Regions from separate parts of the Homo sapiens genome. Here region 1 is linked to region 2. Evidence: promoter capture Hi-C in human tissues and cell types (Jung and others, 2019). All regions are on one chromosome and are shown on one strand. Each heading gives the region's core, a stretch centred on a gene start or on the middle of the fragment in contact. The rest is flanking DNA. Distances are from core to core; before and after follow the strand shown.

Region 1 (5,826 bases), core at 2,527-5,026, 80 kb before region 2:
GCTTACCACGGGCTCAAATTTTTGCTAGATATTTAATACACTTTCTCTAATCCTCACAACACTTTATTTACACATGAAGACAGGAAGGCTCGGAGAGTTTAAATGATTTGCCCAATAAGTGGCAAAGGTGAGACATGTCTCTGTTTAATAATTTATAATGAAAAGTTAGAGAAACTAGTATATTTGAACGCTTGTGATTAGCAAACCTGCATGGAAGTCAACTTCCCTTTGGGTGGATCAAAAGGAGCAAAATGAATTATACCTTTACAATTGTCATTCTCAGGTAGGTGTGATCTTGCCAGTAAGTCTGAGTCTTTTTGGCTACGATCTGCAGCTTGTATCTCCACTTAAGGAAACCACACCAGTGGACTATATGTTAGGCTAGAGATGAAGGCTTTCTCCCCTCTGGTTGGTGTTCTAGCTGGCCTGGGGAGAGGGCCACATTTGAACTCTAGTCTTTCTGACTTGAAGTCTATATTCTGACTACTGTACCATGTCCTTCCTCCTCCTGTGTAAAGGAGGTGTGTGTCCATAGGTCAGTGTGGTCCCAAGAAAGGGTTGCCTGTGACTGCCTGAGGGATTAAGGGAAGATTCACAGAGGAGGAAGTGCTTAAACAGGTCTTGAGAAAAATAGGAGTTTGCCAGATGGAAAGCGAGAAGGGCATACCAGGCAGAAGGAACAGGACATACAAAGGCATGGACACACAAGAAAGCACAGACTGTTTAGAGAGTTGTAAGTGGTTTAGTGAGAGGCAGAATGGTTGGCTATGAGGCCATATAAGTAGGCAGAGGCCAGCTCACAGAGGTCTTTGCTAAGTAGTTTAGACCTTGCACTATAGGCAATAGGAAGCCACTGAATTTTAACATGTCAGATTCGTACATTAGAAAGATCAGCTTTAGTAGCCTAAAGGTATAAAGTAGATCATAAGTAACAGCCAAATTGAACCTGTATCTTGAGTTAGAACAAGCAGAGGAAAATAATTTGAAGTTAGATCTAGTTTTGTTTTAGGCAGATGACTCCTTTGATCCCCTTGGAAACTCAGGAGAGGAGAGTATTAGGAGTGACTTCAAATGTGGAATGATTAGCCTTTTGCTAGGTCGTCTCATGCTTGGAAATTCTCTGGCTCTTGCCTGAGCCATGGTCCTAGTTAAACCATGGAGATGGGATTGGTTCCACGGTTTCACCAAGGATTCATGTAGGCCATTCTCTGACGCACATACACACACTGATTCAGACCTGGAACTGACTGCATCTCCCTGGAATTCTTTGGGTCAAAAATGACCCATAGTCCTAGACTGATCAACTAAATTCATCCCAAATCTTACTAACACCTATTCTATGCCAGATGCTTTCATATACTTTATATCATTTGATCCGTAACAACTTTGTGAGGTGTAGGTATCAGCCCAATTTGATGAATTAGGAAATTCAATGGTAGAAAGGCTGTCCAGCTAGTACATGGTAGAGCTGGGATTTGAGAGGCAGACAGAGTATCCTATTGTCATCCATTCTTAGTGTAAGTTTTTTCCAGTGGCGTGGAGTGTTGTAAACATTCTTGCATATCATAAGTGACATTCATATTAGACATTGAATGACCATTATACTTAGAAATGTACCAATGATTTAATTCTTTTCTAGCAGTAAGTTTTGCTGTGAACTCCAAAGCTCACCCCTAAAATACAGCAACAGCTATCCTGAAGCTCCTGCATGAAACCCCCCACTCTATCTTAGAATTGTGCATAGTTCATAATACATGTTATATGTCTTCCCAGCCTGTACACTTTAGAAGCAGCAAAGCAGCAAGAGACAGTTGCTTTTTGGCCACGTGCGGTGGTTCATGCCTGTAATCCCAGCACTTTGGGAGACCGAGGCAGGTAGATCACTTGAGGCCAGGAGTTCGAGACCAGCCTGGCCAACATGGTGAAACCCCATCTTTATTTATTTGAGAGAGAGAGAGAGATACTTACATTTTGGAAAGTACTCTGGCTGCAGTTGGAGAGCAGACTGGCTCACTTTTTGATGTTGTAGAAAGTCCTTGGACTTTAGAGTCAGGCAAACTGGAGTTCATGCCCTTTTACTATCAGCGTGACTCCCAGAAAGTCACCAAATTTCTCTGAGCCTCAGTCTGCTCATCTGTAAGATGAAGCTTGTATCTACCTCAAGGTTATTGTGAGGATTAGAGATAACAAATATAAAGTGCCCAGTTTATAGTGGTTGGGTTTTTATTGTTTCAGAGTAATGCTTTGGACTTTAATCTTACCTGTGTGAGAAAAATGAGTTGTCGTACTTTGCTAATTTTTTTGCCAACTAACCTTTATTGGAGTGCCTACTTTGTGCTGTAGACAGCACATCAGACTGTCAAAACTGAGGTTCTAACAAAGTGAGGAGGGAGGGCTAATGGACCCAGTGTTTCCTTGCAGTTCTGCTCACCTGTCAAATTCCTGACTCCCCTTTGTCCCACCAGCACCCCTACCTTTCAGGTGGGCTGCGTGTCATTCTGTGTGCTACACAACACACCCTTGTTTCAACCATATTTCTACTTGAAGTCGTTTAGAGGAAAGCCAAAGGTCTGAGTATGCATTCTATTTCCTCAAGTACAGACATCAGAGAATGCTGTTTATTAATGAAAAAATAAACAGATCTTTGGCAGCAAAGAAGCCTCTCCCAATGATGTATGGGGTGCTTGGGCTATAGTCACGCCTGCAGTTTGAGCCCATCTGTTTTCTCTGTTCACCTCCTGAGCACTGTCCCCTTGTGGTTTGCATCATTCCTTAAGACCAGCCAACTCCAACCCTCCTCAGTCCACTCATTCAATAGCTGTCTTATTTAAACACACACACTCTCTCTCTTTGGGTGCCAGATGTGAAGTTTCAAGGCAGCAGAGGCTGGGCTGGCTAGTGCCATGACACCTGCTTTAGTAGGCAAGCCAGTCAGCTGCCGCTTCTGATGATGTTGGCTCTTCTTCATGGACAGCATGAGGGTTTCACCCCACCAAGTGCACACACAGGCAGCTGAGGGAGCCTCATAAATTATGGTTTTGTTTGTTTACTTCGGGCAGACAGTGTGGTGTAGTGGAAAGAGCCCTGCACTTGGACGCAGAAAGCACGGGTTTGAGTGCTTGGTGGTTATGTGCTTTCTGTCTACAGAGCACCTCTTCATGGCACTTATCACTATCTCTGCTAATTGTGTATCTGTTTATCTGCTTATTGGCTATCTCCTCCACCACAATATAAGTTCTAGGAAGTCACGGACTGTCTATCATTCTATCTCCAGTACCTAGGACAGTGCCTAGAACATAGTAGGCTCTTAGAAAATATTTATTGAATGAATTAATGAATTATAAAACTGCCTCTTCTACTCACTGGCCATGTGATCCTGGGAAAGTCATTCTCTTCTCTGGGCTTCAGTTTTATCAACTTGGTTGAAAGCATTAGTTCTCTATCCCTGATGCTGTAAGAGTTTAAGAATTCATTCATTTAACAAATTACCTTGTGTCTCCATAGAGGGTACTGCCAAGCCCTAAAACTACACAGTCATGAACAAGGCAGAAACAGAACGTGCTCTCAAGGAGTTTTGAAAGAGAGAGACAACCAAATAAATAATTGCATGAACAATTATGTAATGACCATTGTGATAAGCCTTATAAAAGGATCTGTACAGGGCACTAGGAGAAAAACCACACAGGAGGGCCATGTTGGGGGTTGTCAGAGATTTCTTGGTGAAAGTGACATTTAAGTCAGACTTTACAGATAAGTAGTTGACCAGGCAAAGATGGTACAGTATTTCAGGGAGAGGGAAGAGCATTTGTGAAAGTCCAGGGTGGGCATGTGGCTGTAGCCTGGTGACCAACAGGGAGGTCATGCCAAGATCAGGCTAGAGAGGGAGGCTGGGCCAGATGGTTCAGAACCTTGTCGGCTATGGTAAGGATTCTGTCATATCTAAAGACAAAGGGAAGTCATTGAAAACAATTCCTGTCATTACAAAGGCTTTACTAGTACATACAGAGGGGAAAGCTGGACTCAGCCTTACATGGCTGTCAGAGGTAGATAGAGCAGATAGTACCTCCATTTTGTAGCTGAGGAAATAGGCCCCAGGGATGATAGGTAACTTACCAAGACCACTAGGCAAGTCAGTGGTAGAACTTGATCTCTAAAATTTTAGTCTACTTTTCTCAATACTATATCACATTACAAAGTTGAGAGGGTTTTCTTTCCCTTCACATACTCTAGATGGCCAAATTTTAGACCTAAATGCCTTGTAATAACAGCTCTCATCTGCAAATTGAATGTCTCGAAAGCAACTTTTAAGCAAGTCTGTTAGCAACAAATCCCTCCAGAGCATTATGCTTGCATTTTGGGTAACTACAACCATATCTTTGATGCCCATTTTAGATTATTGTTAGGATAGATTGTTAGGAATAGAATTACTGTGTCAAAGGATATACATTTTAAGAAACTTTTCATACATATTGCCAACTTGTCTTCCCAAAGGTTGCGTATCATCATCAGTATATGACAGTGACTTTCTCAGTGCTTCAAGTAATAGAGACCAACTCTAATTTAAGCAAAACTGAATAGAGCTTACTTTCTAATCATACATATTTTGTTCACTTAGAGATGGGAAACTCAACCAGGCTTTGGCAATTTGAATTGAGGAAGAAGATGAAGCTATAGAGATAGTGCCCAAAGGAGGCAGAAAACTCCCGAAGGCATTGTTCACTGTGAAGAGGCACACAACATAGACATTAAAGATAGGAAAGTGAAGGCAAACTCTATTGTATTCTACTAAAGGAAGAATCCTCAGCATTGTGACATTCTGCTAAAAGTAACTCCAACTTGGAAAAGCCCTTCCTCTGGCTTGCTACAAAACTAATTGGAGATCCTAACTTGGAGTTTGTTGCCATGCTTGCCCTTGCCCCACAAGAGGTTGTCATGGACCCAGCTTTGGCAGCACAATATATCATGATTTACAGGTTGTTCAAATGTTCTCCCGGATGAGAATGATGATCTGTAAGAAAATTAATCTGGAGCCCAGCATCAGAAGTATAGTTTTATAAGCATCTGTGCTGTGCTGTCAGTGGTGTAGCATGTTTGCCATTTTATTGTGTAGCTAAGCAGAACATGTGCTTTATCTTTGGGATGCTGAAGGAGATGAATGGACTTCAAAAATACCTTCAATTTTTGGACCTGCATATTTAGCTGTTTTTGTTGTTTCCTTCTGGAGTTTCATATATATTAGGTTGGTACAAAAGTAATGGCAGTTTTTGCCAAAGTATTGCAAAAACCACAGTAACTTTTGCACCAACCTAATACTTAACATCATAATATTCAGTGGTGAGGATCTTATTTTACTGCCATTCCCATTCCTTTTCATTTAGAAACAGAATAAAGTTGTATTTCAAATACCTAAGAGAGATACACACACACATAGTGTGGTCCATAACATAAGTAGAAATAAAATACTTGACAAAACTAGCACAAAGGATGAGGAGGGAGTATGGAAGTATAGTATACTCTTCTTCTTATGTTATACTTGAGGTGGTATATTATTTTTAAATTAATAACTTTTTAAACAACTTAACTGTTTTAAGTTAAATATGCGTATTGTAAACCTGAGAGCAACCACTGAAAACCACAATGTATAACTCCAAAGTATAGTTAATAAGCCAATAATGCAGATGAAATGGAATACTAAAATTACCAATGAATGTTAGAAAAGAAGGAAAAAAAGGACAAAGAATAGATGGGACAAATAGAAAGCAATAAAAAGACATTAGACTTAACCATATCAACATTAAATGTAAATGGAATGAACACTTCAATTAA
Region 2 (6,151 bases), core at 231-2,730:
GCATAATTGGGAACTGATTTTTTTTGGAAGCTATCAAGCACCAGTCTTGTGCTAGCTGCTTTACCTCTTTTCTCTAATTTAATCCTATCAACTCTCCTAGGATTTTTACTTCCGCTTTATAGATTAGGAAACCCAGGGTCAGAGAGGTGCACTCTGTGACGGCCTCCCAGCAGCTGGCATTCAGCGGGGCTGGGATGGTGAAGACGCTGGTCTATCTCACTGTGCCCTGCCGCCTCCCAGAGTCTCACACTGCAAATTCAGGGTTCCTTCTAGACAATGTGAGGCAGGGAATAAAGCATGGGATCTGGAACTAGAGTTCTGGCTTTGGATGGCTTACCCGCTCTGTAAGTTTTAGCAAGTTCCTCCTTGCTCAGCCTAAGTTTTCTCATCTGTAAAGTGCGAATGATAATACCCACCTCACTGGAGAGTTGCGAGGATCAAAAGAGAGAAAAGAATGGGAAGGTTATCCTAATTACCTCTCATTTCTGTCCAATGGCTCTTTCCAAAGGCAAAAAGCCTTTTCTTCTCCATCACACTCCTTACCTGTAGCCAGACATACCCGACTCCCTCCTAGGAACAGTAAGTCCTCCCCCAACCCAAAACACAGTGCCCTGCCCTCTCCCCCCGCTGCCCTTGGTGCCCCTCCTCAGGTCCCTGGCAGCAGCCCTCTCTCAGTTCTGAGTTGTGCCGAGTTCCTCCGGTCCCCCGGCCCATACTGGTCCTCACGGAGTCTCCACCCCTCCGGCACAGGTGCTGCCTGGACGGCTGTCAGAAGAGCTTGGGGTCCAGGTCCTGGCGCTGTCCCTCACATTCCAGGGGCCGCATCCCTCCTCTGCCCACCCAGCCTCCCGGTCTACTTACGGGCTCGAGCGTGGGAGTCCAGGGGGAACCAGAGCAGCGCGAGTCCCAGCAAGGAGGAGAGGACCCTCACCTCGGGAACCATCCTTTCCCCAGGGTCAGGCCGCTGGTCCGGGAGCGGAGTCGGGAGGAAGGGAGACGAAAAGGACACGGAGGCACAGGGGCCACAGATCAACCCACAGACCCCAGGAGGTCTGCTGCTAGAGCGGGGTCGGAGAAGGGCCAGGAAGCAGCGGTGGGCAGGAAAGGAGGGCAGGAAGGGAGGTCTAAGGTGGGAAGAAGAGAAAGGTGGAAAGAGAACGCGGGGAAAGGAGGGAGAGATGGAGAGACGAAGGAAGGTCCAGCAGAAGGGAGAGGCGATCAAAGAAAGGGGGAAGGTGAGAGGGAGAGGAGGAGAAAGCAGGGAGAGGACCGGCGTCTGCCGAGCGCGCAGCGCCGGGCGAGGCGCGCGGGACCAGCGGGTGTTGCGGGCGCGCGGGCTAGAGGCGGCCGGCGCCCCCTGCTCGGTGGGCTCGGGGTCGGGCCGCGGGGGCCTGGGGCCCGGCGGGGCGGCGGTCCCAGCAGCGGCGGCGGCGCGGCGGCCGCGGAGGGAGGCTGAGCGCGGGCCGGCTGTGCTCGCCAAGGGCTTCAGGCGCCGCGCTCGGGCGCATTTGTACTTTGCCGCGGGAAGCAGGCAGCCCGGCCTGGCGCTGGCCTAGCGCTGGCGCCTCCTCTGGGGCACCGCGGGCTCGGTGGATTGGCCACCCGAGAAACAGGCCCACTTTTTCCCCTCCTCTCTTGTGCGGGTCTCCGGGACGGACGCTCCAGGCGCGGCGCCGAGTGGAGGCGAGGGGGCTGCGGAGGGGGAAGGGGCCACGCGGGCCACGGGGTTTAACCCCTGACTCCCCGCGACGCCAAGAATGCAGGAGGGCAGAGTTGAGGGAGACCTCAGGTGGAACTTTCAGGTGGGGAAGGCTGAGCTGTCGGGGCTGCGGGTACCGGGAAGGCTCAGGGTAAGGCGCTCGGCGGTGCGTGCCCGGAACTCCGCAGATGGATGGAATCAGAACACTGGCGTTCTTAATTCAGTTTGTGGTCTACAGCACGCCACCGGAGAGTCTGTTTTCCCAGCTTTAAAATGGGCATTTTAAGATCTTAAAATATCTCTACTATCTTCCCACGAGTGTTGCTAAGATGAAATAAGGTAATGAACGTCGAAACACTCACCCCACAAAGAGAAGGGGTCCTAATTCCAGGTGCCTACAATACCAGTGGCCCCTGTCCCCACTCCGTCTGCCCATGCGCCATTCTCAGGAAAGTCAGCCCATAGGGATCCTGTGCCTTCCCCTGGAGGTCTTCCTCTGCTCCCCGCTCCCACTCCCGAATCAAGGCAAGATCTCTCCTTTGCCTTTGCAGGTGAGGCCTGCACTTCTCTGGGAGTGATGGTCACCTTCAGTCATCTTTAGGGAGAGCTGATTGTCAAAGAGTTTTCTTTCCCACCAGAAGGGGAGCTCCCTGAGGACAGGGCCCTGACACCCTCCAGCCCTCAAATGGTGCTCCATCTCTTGTGTTGAATGAACACATGCACTAATAGGACACTAAGAAGAGAATAGCCAGCTCTGGCCAGACCAGAAACACACAAGCTCTGAAATCAAAAGGGCAGAGTCACTGTCCTGGCTCCATCCGTAACTTGTTGGGCCACTTTGAGTAAATACATCTATCCTTGCTTTGGACCTCAACTTTCTGCCCAGCTTCTCTTGAAGAGCTAATGGAGACTCCAAAGAGTGCCAGAGGAGTATGAGGTGGGAAGGGATGTTGAGCCATATCCCACTCTGGTAGGGAATCATATTTCCGGGTTTAAACACTTGGCTGGCTGGCTGTAAAGGTATCTTTCTGGGCCAAGGCTGGGCTCCCCATTGCACTGTGCTTTCAGGGTATTACCCCCAAGATCTCCACCCTCCAAAAGAGAGCAGTAGGAGGAACCAGTGATCCCCAAACTGGCCCTTCCTAGGGCTCTCAGGATCAGGGACAAACATGATCTGTCCAGTGCCCTTCAGGCTTAATTTCTACTCTAATCTGGCCAGTCTCTTCCTTTCCCCTGAGTATTCTTTATTTTAACAGATAGTGCAAGCTTATGCATGTCACCATGCTTCCCTTTTTGCCTTTGCTTCCAGGGATCTCAGAGTTAAATCCTGTGCTGCTTAATTGCATAAACAATCTCATCCCAAGGGTTTGGGACAGTGATCTTTTCCTTTCTCTTTGTTTAAAATGTGCTGTGCACATATATTCATGTCTTAGATGTAAGAAGTGGATTAAGATGGGTTCCCCTACATCCTGCCCATCATACTTCAAAAAAGGCCTCCACCATCTCAGCCCTCCTGTCCATCCCTATTATCCCCAGAGTTGAGGCCAACTTCATTCCTTTTTTTTTTTTTTTTGAGATGGAGTTTTGCGCTTGTCGCCCAGGCTGGAGTGCAGTGGCGTGATCTGGGCTCACTGCAACCTCTGCCTCTGGGTTCAAGCGATTCTTCTGCCTCAGCCTCCCGAGTAGCTGGGATTACAGGCATGCACCACCTATAATTTTTGTATTTTTAGTAGAGATGGGGTTTCGCCATGTTGGCCAAGCTGGTCTTGAACTCCTGACCTCAGCTGATCCACTCACCTCAGCCTCCCAAAGTGCTGGGATTACAAGCATGAGCCACCGCACCCGGCCATCTTCATTCCTTACTTGAACTTTCCCAACAGCCTCTTACCAGGTCTCCTCCCCCTAATCTGGATCTCTCCTATCTATTTTCCTCACACCTGCCTTGAGAACTATGCTGATCATTTCTACTGACAAATCTGATCACATCACTTTCCCACATAAAACCTATTATTCACTTCCTATCATTTATAGGTTAAAATCTAAAATTTTCAGCACTGAATTGAACACCACGCATATTTTAGTTCCAATCTACCATTGCCACCTACCCTACACTTTGGCCAACCGCTCACCTCCCCAAACTGACCATGCGTCGTCGCACCTCCATATCCTCACACATGTTTTCCTTCTGCCTGGACTCTCTCTTCCTCCATCTAGTGAATCCCATTTAACTTTCCAAAGGTCAGTTGAGTCACCTCCACTCCAAGGTCTTCCCTGAGTCCCCCAGGCAAAGTCAATGTTTAGTCTTTGTGTTTCCCATAGCACTTTGAATTGTAGCTGTTGGAGTGTAAGTATTTATTTGCATTTTTACCCTGCACTGTGAGTGCAGGTGCCTTTTGAAATTTATATCTGTAATTCGAGCATTTAGCAAAGTCCTTGACACACAGATACTGAATAAATAATTGCTACATGAATGAGTGAAGACCTCAGTGATTGGAAAAGCCTTCAGCCCACTATTGGCCTCAGCTTTAGTCAATGATTGACATAAGAAACAAACACTTGAAAGTTTCTGTGTCAGGCCGGGCCCAGTGGCTCACACCTGTAATCCCAGCACTTTGGGAGGCTGAGGTGGGAAGATGGCTTGAGCCTAGGAGTTTAAGACCAGCCTGGGCAACAAAGTGAGACCCCCCCCCAACTTCGTCTCTACAAAAAGTAAAAAAGATAGCTGGGCATAGTGGCACGCACCTGTAGTCCTAGCTACTCTGAAGGCTGAGGCAGGAGGATCGCTTGAGCCCAGGAGGTTGAGGCTGCAGTGAGCCGTGTTTGCACCACTGCACTCCAGAGCAAGACTGTCTCAAAAAGAAAAAAAGAAAGAAAGAAAGTCTTTGTGTCTTCTGTAGAAATACTATTGAAGAGAGTTGTCTATATATTATTTAATACCCTTTTAAAAAGGAGACTGAATAAATTCTTCCAAAATCTAGTCAGGAAAAAAAAATGCATCTCCCCATAGCAGTTTGTTGCACTAAGAGTTTATCTGGCATCTGCTTTCTTCCTTCATAGCGAACTTGCTCATTGCCTGCCAAGGCAGCCCATTCCACTGTTGGACAGCTCTGTTAGAAAGTTCTTTATATTAAACTGAAATCTGATTCTCTGTGACTGCCTGTGTTGCCCCTCACTCTGTCCCCAGGGCTATACAGAACAAGCCAAGTCCTTTTGTCTTTTGAGAGCTCTCTAGAGATTTGGGGCAGAGAACCCCTCTTCCATACCTTCACCTTTACCAGTCTGGGTCCCGGGACCCCTCATGCCATATTAAACATTGTCTTCAAATGTGCCAAGCTCTTGGGCCTCCATGACTCTGCAAACACTGTTTCTTCGCCCTGGAATGCCCTCTCTGTACTCACTTTGATTTGTCTGGCAAGCTTACTTATTTTTCAAGGGTTAAGGTAATTGCTAACTCCTTCACTCATGCAACAATTATTGAGTGCAAATTCTGGGCCAGACATAGTGCTAGGTGCTAGGGACACAGTGGAGAACAAGACAGACACCGACACTTGTATTCTAGGTGCTCTGAATCCTCTTTGCTGGTCTCTGAGTTAGCTCCGTTCTGCTCCATACTTCTTTGTTATAGCACTTACTACATTGTATTTTCAATAGGTTTTGTGTCACCTCCTCTATAGTGAGTTCTTTGAGAACATAGACTACTATTTAATATCTTCCCTAGCCTTCAACACACAGCTTTGCACATATTTGCTGCTAAATAAAGGTTTGTTGAATAATATCCTAGTTCCTTCAAACAGTCCTCATGTGACATGCTATTTGTGACTAAAAGGCCACCTCCTCCGCCACAGGTTGCTTAATTATGTAAAATTACCATAGCGATAAGGATCATAGGGATCAGTGTCAAGGAGAGACTTAGCCTAGTCCGCTTAATTCTGTCCATAAGATTCTAAAAGAAGATTCACCACAAGAAGATTACATAATAGAGACTCTACACCAGTGGTGTGCTGGTAAATGTTTAACAACTGGTTCTCCAGGGGAAAAAAAGTGTTGTTTTTTACAGTTGCCAATGTCTGTGGTGTAAATACTCCCACTGTGGCCAATTCATGCTACCAATGTGACATCACTGAAAGCGCAGTGGAGAAGAGAGGCACAGTGAAATACCGTTATACAGTATTTCCTCCCTATCGACATAGTAGATGTAAATAACCTCAAGAACATTGAGAGTAGTAATTAGGAAGTGATGACTCAGTTTTTATTACCTCTGTTTTAAGTGTAACTTATTTAATTATACGTTATGTTATTTAATTTTTAGGAATGATTGTGTTCAATAACCAGCTTGCAACATTTCTGAAAATTTAACCCCTGGCTCTCCTTAGCTGGTAAAAGCCCCCTCTAGTACGCTGCTTTTACATGATTAGGTGCTGAAATGCAATGAACAAATAGCCTCTTTAAAGC

The links. Contacts are between HindIII fragments. The study calls those that stand out against the background at their distance.
Region 1: a contact is called between a fragment that was not itself captured here and the fragment with the promoter of CHRDL2 in region 2, in 2 of the 25 tissues and cell types used here (IMR-90 fibroblasts and bladder).

What each region holds. Positions count from the first base shown.
Region 1 is chr11:74,647,906-74,653,731 of GRCh38, forward strand. It overlaps a transcript of POLD3 not described here and the pseudogene RANP3. Among named protein-coding and RNA genes, the nearest start is that of POLD3, 58 kb to the left of the region's middle. The HindIII fragment of the contact is 9,872 bases long and covers 1-5,826 here.
Region 2 is chr11:74,729,946-74,736,096 of GRCh38, forward strand. It overlaps CHRDL2 (chordin like 2), which reads right to left and starts at 1,481. Exons shown (of 11, transcript NM_001278473.3): 1 at 862-1,481. The coding sequence starts at 943. The HindIII fragment of the contact is 7,141 bases long and covers 1-4,040 here.